2 separate regions of the Homo sapiens genome follow, and region 1 is linked to region 2. The links are contacts of gene promoters, found by promoter capture Hi-C in blood cells and fetal thymus (Javierre and others, 2016). All regions are on one chromosome and are shown on one strand. Each heading gives the region's core, a stretch centred on a gene start or on the middle of the fragment in contact. The rest is flanking DNA. Distances are from core to core; before and after follow the strand shown.

Evidence for each region. Contacts are between HindIII fragments. The CHiCAGO score rates a contact against its expected background, and 5 or more counts as called.
Region 1: a contact is called between a fragment that was not itself captured here and the fragment with the promoter of OSTN-AS1 in region 2, in 1 of 17 cell types (total B cells). The highest score is 5.2, in total B cells.

The regions. Positions count from the first base shown.
Region 1 is chr3:191,331,551-191,335,669 of GRCh38, forward strand. All of the region lies in intron 1 of CCDC50 (coiled-coil domain containing 50), which reads left to right. It also overlaps a transcript of UTS2B not described here. Among named protein-coding and RNA genes, the nearest start is that of UTS2B, 3.1 kb to the left of the region's middle. The HindIII fragment of the contact is 1,965 bases long and covers 269-2,233 here.
Region 2 is chr3:191,232,760-191,236,929 of GRCh38, forward strand. OSTN-AS1 (OSTN antisense RNA 1) reads right to left here and starts at 1,846. Exons shown (of 6, transcript NR_133663.1): 1 at 1,813-1,846. The region is part of intron 3 of OSTN (osteocrin); the gene reads left to right. The HindIII fragment of the contact is 7,111 bases long and covers 1-2,552 here.

The DNA of each region.
Region 1 (4,119 bases), core at 1-2,500, 98 kb after region 2:
TGGCTCTTTCATTAAGTTACAATTAAATATTAATTTTGAAGGTGGTCAGGAATCGATGAGATCACTGTCTTTGTAAACATCTGACTTTTCTAGTTCCAAGATCATCAAAGGAAGTGATGTATTATACTAGGAATGTCCTACTAATGGTGGTGAAGTTTTTGATCTGAGAAGTATTCAAGTCTAATAAAGTGTATCCTTCCCTAATATAACTCTTAATTATGGCCCAGTTACTCCCTAACAGTGTCTTTATCCTAATTAAAGAGAATGAAGCTTGTGCCCCTGATAGGGTAAAACATGTGCAAACATTGAGACTGTGGTAATATTGAAACTCCAACTTCATTTGAGAAGGGTTAGTAGTAGTAATTAGTTTAATATTCTGATGCAGATTTTTGAACCCCATTCAAAAAAATCCCTGTATCTGTCTCCTCTACTTTTTAATTTAAACTTTTGATAGATATATATGCAGTTACAATTTATATTCAATTTGGTATCATGGGGTAGATTCCAATAGAGATTAAGAAGAATAGTGCAGTGAGTGTGTGCCCGTTTCCATTGCTGTTTAGGAGGGGATGGGGCACCCTGTGACCTTTTGTCGTGAACATTTCAATAGAGGTCGTGGGTAGCAGCTGACATTAGGGTAAGGGGATATTTAAAAATCTTCTTTCCTAGGTTGAAATCTAATGCTTGCTTACTTAGTTTTTAAGGAAGTCAAAAATATTCATCATTTGGACAGACCTTTTGAAAAAACACACACACATACACCTATGGTAGTATTTATACCTTGGTAAATCTCTTAAACTGGGAGACAAAGGGAAATGATTGAGTTCATATGTAGGTGAAAAGAATCAAGTCAACTAAGTGTCAACACATCATTTTTTCTGGTTAAAAGTGTGTTTGGAACATCTGTATACTTTTTGTAATGGAAAACGCTGTTGCCAATATTCAGGAATAATACTCTATTTCTTCTGAAACATTTGAGGTTCTAGATTTGAAATAATTTCCAGCCATTTTAAACTTCAGTAGGTCTATAACTGAAATGCAAAATGCAATTTGCGAATGTTAGGGAAAGGAACAGGCATGTTTCAACAATATTCTGAAAGTTTCTTGGAGTTCAGAGCTGGAAACATATTTTTGTAAAAAACTTTTAATCAGTTGACAAACTTACATTTTTCAGGGGGTCAGTTTTAGCTTCTTCATTGAATTTTTCTTTTCTGAACCAGCAATCAAGACTCCCTACTTCCTTTTGCTCTCCAAGTTCCTGTATCGGTAAATGAATTGTCCACTTGCTGTAATTTTGCCATTTAGCCCTCTCTAACCAAGATGTTGATCGAGGCCTTTCTAGACATTTTGGCGTTTCATCAACTTCTTTGCAATTTCTTAAGCATTAGAGCTTTACCACTTTTAGCCATGCAGTGCATGCTTTCAACCTCTCCTATTTTCTCCAAGTGTTAATCTTTATTTTTCTTTCCTTACAGCAGTTCTCTCAATCTCATTTTTATGTTCAATTCTTACATTCTTTAGGTGGAAAGTTCCACTGTCTCAAAGTTGGTGAATTCTGTGTGTGTTGGTGTGCATGTGTGTGCTTAACATCTGAAATCAGTTTACCTAGGAGTGACTTACTTCTTGAAGTACAGGTAGCTAGCTATTCTGGGAGCAAATCCTTTTTCTTTAGTGAAAGATACAATTTAATACATTTTTAGAAATGTCTGTAAAAGGAAACATACCTAGAAAGCACTGATTTATTTTAGGTTCAGGGCACTCCAGTGGCATAATGTGTTAAATTAAGTTAATGGCGTACATCCAGACCTTCAAGGGGGAAAGATATAAAATTATGTCTGGTACCATCAGTGAACCCAGTAGTCTAAGAAATTTAGAGCTTATCACATGCACACTAGGCATCTAAACAGATGGCAGTGTCCATGAGATGTACATATATCTGGCTACACGGCAAACCCACTTTCCCTGTTTTTCAAAATTCCATAACAGTTTTTGTTTTGGTTGTTGGTTTTTAATGAGACCCTGGCTGGATCTCTTGGAGCTAGGAGGTTTATGTCTTAGTTATCTTGCTGTACCCTCATTTGGATGAATGTCTTTTATGTAATCAGCAACTATTCAGTAAATATTTGCATGTGTGAATAAATGAATGAGTGAATGAATGAATACATTATTATTCTCTGTTGGTTTAGGAATCTTGTCTCTGGCATAATTATTTTGTATTCTTTTTCAGAGTATAAGCTTTTAAAAGGCAGAGATAATACCTTTTAAACTGTGTGTATCACTTATTTATACCAGCATTAAATTTATAAAAACTTCGAATTTTTTTCTAATTTTTTATAGGTATGTCTTGTAAATAGAATTCATTCAACATAGATATGTATTACATAGAAAAATTAAAGAAAGTAATTTGTTGCTTTCTTTTCTGACTTTGGAGATAATCATTAAGAATAGAATTTTAGTAAAATTTTCTAAATGCTATTTTGTGTTTTTGATTTTTACTTGAGTAATAATAGGTTTAATTTTTTGTTCTAAGTACAAAGCAATATCACTCAATTTGGGAGCAGGAAGGAATCTTAGATAATTTGCATATCTGCTGTGTGCCACATGTTGTGTTGAGGGTATTTCCACAATAAAAAAAAATTTTCCATGGTACATGAACATGATCTTTGCTGTGGTATAGAATGCATGGAGTTGTTGAAAGAACTGTCTGAATTCATATGTGCACCAAAAATGGCTTTCACAAAAGGGAAGAAAATAGTATATTGCCATATGTAGACTTGCATTACTTTTTTGAATGAAGAAGGGAATTTTCAAATGGATGTAACTGTTAATTTGTAAAATATATATTTTTTAAACAGGTACTTAACGGACGACTCACACGTGGGAAACCATAGTTAATTGGTACTTTAAAAAGAGATTTCAGAGTAGAAAGCACTAAAAACCACTGTTCTAGGCCAACTTCCTTATTTTCCAGATGAAAATCCCAGGGTCAGGGAGGGCAAGTGAGTTGTATTAAACCACTGAGGCTAAGTAGCTAGGAATTGGCACATTGGGGCCTAGAATTAGAAAAGTTTAGAACTGTGAGTAGTTGCTTACACAGCTTATTCTTCCCTCCATTTCTTTTTACCTACCTTCTCTTTTCCTTTTCCTCCTTCCCTCTCTTCCCCTTCTTTCTTTTAAATTGTTCTGTAGATGCGAAAGATTCATTTCTGATGTGTTTCATTTATGTGATATGCCATATGTTTAAGACAGTAGAATGAAAATAATAAGGCTTTTTCTGAGGATAGTTATTTTAAGGATAATGTATCATATGGATGCTGAGTTAACATACAATTTTTTACAACTTTTAGTTTTGATTCAGCAAATGAATTACTGAGTGAACTGTAGGAAGTCACACTCTTGCCTCACTGTTTTTTCTACCTGAAAAGTCTTGCAAAAATGCATGTCTTCTCTGGTATATTCATTCTAAAGAGGCTAATATTTAAAGGTAGAAACTCTAAAATTAAACGTATTGGAGAAATAAAGTCATAGGCCATGGTCTTTCCTCAGCCCTTGTTAGGGACTTAACAGTTTTTGTTGAGATAAATAAATTTTTCCTCAGTGACAAAAAACATGTGAGTTTCATTCATAAAGAAAACAGTTATGGAGACCACTAAACTTAAGTAAATGCTGCTTGAAATCCCAGTTCTCCAAGGTACAGAAGCATATTTAGAAGTGAATTGCTTTGATCCATAGAGGAGAAAACAAACATTCAAACAACTATATTTGCTGTTTCAGAGGTAGCCACTGGAAGTGCCATTGGATTAATGTTTTTAACTGGTGACTCGTTTAAAGGTGTCCTGTGCTTCAAAAATGTAAAATTAGAATAACCTAGATCTTAGATAAGACCTACAAAGGATAATTAGTTTTTATATTTAGAAGGACTTTGGGGATTACTTGGATGTTTGAATCTAGAATGTTCCAGGTGTTTGAATTTAAAAACCAGCGCAAGAGTTCTCAGATATTGCTTTTAAAAGGACTGTTAAGCAGAAAACAATCATTATTTCCTTCTGTCATCATTTCGTTAAAAAAGCATACACACATACATTAAGTGTGTGTGCATAGGATAGTTTTTAGCCTACA
Region 2 (4,170 bases), core at 596-3,095:
GCCTGCCACCACACCTGGCTAATTTTTGTATTTTTAGTAGGGACTGTGTTTCTCCATGTTGGCCAGCCTGGTCTCGAGCTCCTGGCCTCAAGTGATCTGCCCACCTCTGCCTTTCAGAGTGCTGGGATTACTGGTGTGAGCCACTGCGTTCGGTCATAAATGCTATCTTTCATTTACAGGTTAATGGAACTAAAGATGTAACCCTTTCCCATCTACACGTATAGGCCCCTGAATTATATTGCTCCATAATCCCAGATTTTAAAACTCTGAGTCACCAGGGTACAAAACATATTATTTAATTCTATATTACTATAAAATATCAGAAAAGAAAAAGGAAATTAACTCTACTTTCAAAAAGGTCCACCAGGAGATGGAAACAAAAAAATTCATGAAAGCTAGGGAAAACAAAAATGAAAAGAAACAAATATAAAAAGCTAAACAGGGAAAACCCTATATCAGGTCATATTAACTTGAAATAAAGAACCACCTGTTGTTTCCTATTTTGTATTGCTTAACACATTTTTACCTGAATAGGACACTAGCTTCATTTTCTGATTCATGTGCAAATTACTTCAATTCTCCGGGCAACACTAACTCAACTATACTTTGAAGCCCAAAATATTTTTCTCATTTCCATTCACTTGTTTAAAGTCTGAAGTTACCATTTTATTTCTGTTTTCTTTTTTTCGTTTTTTGAGACAGAGTCTTGCTCTGTCACCCAAGCTGGAGTGCAGTGGCAAAATCTCAGCTCACTGCAACCTCCACATCCCGGGTTCTAGCGATTCTCCTGCCTCAGCCTACCAAGTAGCTGGGACTCCTGATCTCAAGTGATCTGCCTGCCTCAACCTTCCAAAGTGCTAGGATTACAGGCATGAGCTACCACGCCCTGACTTTTTTCTGGAAGAATAGTATCTACTATCTGACTGACTCTTTAACATTAGAAGATATTGACGGCCAGGCACTGTGGCTCATGCCCTTAATCCCAGCACTTTGGGAGGCCGAGGCAGGCAGATCATCTGAGGTTGGGAGTTTGAGACCAGCATGACCAACATGGTGAAACACCATCTCTACTAAAAATACAAAATTTGCTGGGTGTGGCGGCGCATGCCTGTGATCCTAGCTACTTGGGGGCTGAGGCAGGAGAATCACTTGAGCCCAGGAGGCGGAGGTTGCAGTTAGCTGAGATCACACCATTACACTCCAGCATGGGTCACAAGAGCGAAACTCCATCTCAAAAAAAAAAAAATTGATGATTGGCCTAGAATTTTTCTAAATAATGGTTTCTCTCACTCCTTCACACAACACTAAAAATGTCTTGCAAATAATAACAATAATAGTGCTCTATATTTGAATTCAATTACTATTAAATATTTGTACAACTCTTATTGCTTTAATTCTCCCATTTAATATTTTAGGTCAGTAAAGCAAGAAATGCTATTGGGTTAGGGTTCCAACAAGAAATAGGTGTCACCTTTGAAATAGGAAAATTTGAGGAGGGTTTTTTCAAAGGAAGACTATTTACAAAACTCTGGGTACAGGTAGATTATAATGGATGGCACAGCAGCCCACGGTGGCCTGAAAAGACAAGAAAGGAAGAGGTTTCCAAAAGTCAGAGAGTCACAGAGTTTCAGATGCCTTGAGAAAAGTAGTGACTTGGCCGGGTGCAGTGGCTCATGCCTGTAATCTCAGCACTTTGGGAGGCCGAGGCAGGTGGATCGCCTGAGGGTAGGAGTTTGTCACCAGCCTGGCCAGCAAAGCGAAACCCCGTCTCTACTAAAAATATAAAAATTAGCTGGGTGTGGTGGCACGCGCCTGTAATCCCAGCTCCTTGGGAAGCTGAGGCAGGAGAATCGCTTGAACCCGGGAGGCAGAGGTTGCAGTGAGCCAAGATCACGCCATTGCACTCCAGCCTGGGCAACAGAACGGGACACCATCTGAAAAAAAAAAAAAAAAAAGCAAAGCACAAAAAGAAAAGAAAAGTAGTGACTTTTCTTCAGGAGCATACTCCCGGGAAGAGGTCTTGCAAGGAGTGGCCAGGAGAAAATTATCCTGACCTCTCTCCTCCTCTTCCTCTATTCTGTCTTCCCCAAATTATCTATTGCTTGATCCACACCAAAGCCAGAGGGCACAGGAACATTTATATGTTCCAAAAAGATCAGCCTCCTAGGACTGAAAGTAGGGTGAGAAAAGGCAGCATACATCTGAGAGCAGAGGGAAGATAGCCAGCAAAATTATACACATTCTGTAGATTTAGGTCAAGAAACACTTTGCTCCAGAATATTGTTATTATACCACCTAATTGAAAGAGAAAAACTCCATAAGTCATAATCAGAAAAAACAGCTTTTCCTCCCATCCCCATGCATTCCAACCCACTCAGTGGTAGTTGTTGTTCCCTACCCCTTGAGTAAACCCAAAGGCAGGTATTAATGGCTCTACTGGCCACATCAAAATAATAAGAATCCCTATGGTTACTTGTACTAGAAAAATAACCATATAACAGTAATTCAAATAACCATTCTTATATGTGACCCCAAACCATGAATACTAATAAAGCTTCTCTTTTCCCTAGCTTGGACCCCATTCATCCTGGAAGGCTTCAGTGGGAAGGAGCTTGTGGCCAGTTTATATTCACAATCTCCCCTATCACAGTAGGCTGCCTTTTGTCTCCTCCAGAACTGGGGATGGAGATGCATGCAGAGAAGTAAAACAAAGTCTTACTTGACATAATATCATGACCTGTCTTTGTGCCCTCATGGCTTTGGTGAATGCTCAAAGCTGACTCATCTTGGAATGTTTCTGGGGGTCACATAACCCCCAGTGCGAATAGTAACATAGGCGTCCTTACCTCCAATAATACTCCTCTTCTGGCAGATCTGCTATGCCCCTCATCCTCACCCTACTCTCTCATCTTCTGCATTTGACACCACCATCAGCATCCTGATGAGTTTGCTTCCCCCATCAGCCCTGACAGAAAGCCCTTGGGGCAAGGTCCCTTTTATAATTGACCCAGGCTGACTCTCTCCACATGCTCTACATCTGCCCACAGAAAACCCACATCCTTGACTCTCATTACTGAAAGTGAAGCAGTTCTTGGTGCAGTCATCTCTTCAGTCTGGTATCAAGCCAATTCTCACAGCTTCTTGCCCTTTAGATTTCATAGACACTATTTTATTAGGTTCACCATGCTTCAATGGACATATTTTAAACTCGAAGTGTTTTTCTCAAAGCCCTTTCCCCATATGAAGGAGGAAGGAAAATGCCATTGTTTTTCAATAACTTGCTCCCAAGAAATTCTCCCTTCCTGAGCTATTCAATATGAATCCTTTTATTGGATTGAAGTTGGAAAAAACTAAGTTTGTAGCAACCTCCTTTGGAAGTACTACATAAGTCTAGCACCTCACTTTGGAATGCAAAACGAAATACTTCCCACATACTTTCTCTCTTTCTGTCTCTTTTTTACTCAGCCTTTTAAAGCCACAGCCAAAAACTGAGATAGAAAGCATCCCATTTTAATATTCTGGTACATTCTTTTTTAAAAATCTCTATCACACACTAAGAAGGAGGTATTGTTACCAGAAAGGGGTCCCGAACCAGACCCCAAGAGAGGGTTCTTGGATGTCACACAAGAAAGAATTTAAGGCAAGTCCACAGAGTAAAGTGAAAGCAATTTTATTACAGAAATGAAGAAACAAAAAAATGCCTACTCCATAGAGAGTAGGGCCCAAAAGCAAGAGGAGGAATGCGTCCATTTTAGGTATAATGCTTGTTTATATATAAGATAATAACGCAAAAAAAAAAACAATCCTTGGGGAGATGTGCGCTACTACAAGGGCTTGGGACAAAGGATTGTTAATCTTTGTATAACTACTGTCTTCCACAATAATTTATATTATTATCTTTAAAGTGAAACTTACTCTTAAACTAAGAATACTTTTGTTCTTAAGATATCGTGACATCAGGATATTTTCTGGACCTGCTAAGTCCTGGATCTCTTCCATAAACATTATTAACTTGTTTTCTTAACTGTAAACATCCTCTGACTAAAATGCCTGACCTTCTGGGAATGCAGTCCAGCAAGTCTTAGCCTCTTTTTACCCAGCCCCTATTCAAGATGGAGTCACTCTGGTTCAAATGCCTCTGACATTAGGATCCACATTTTATTATGTTTT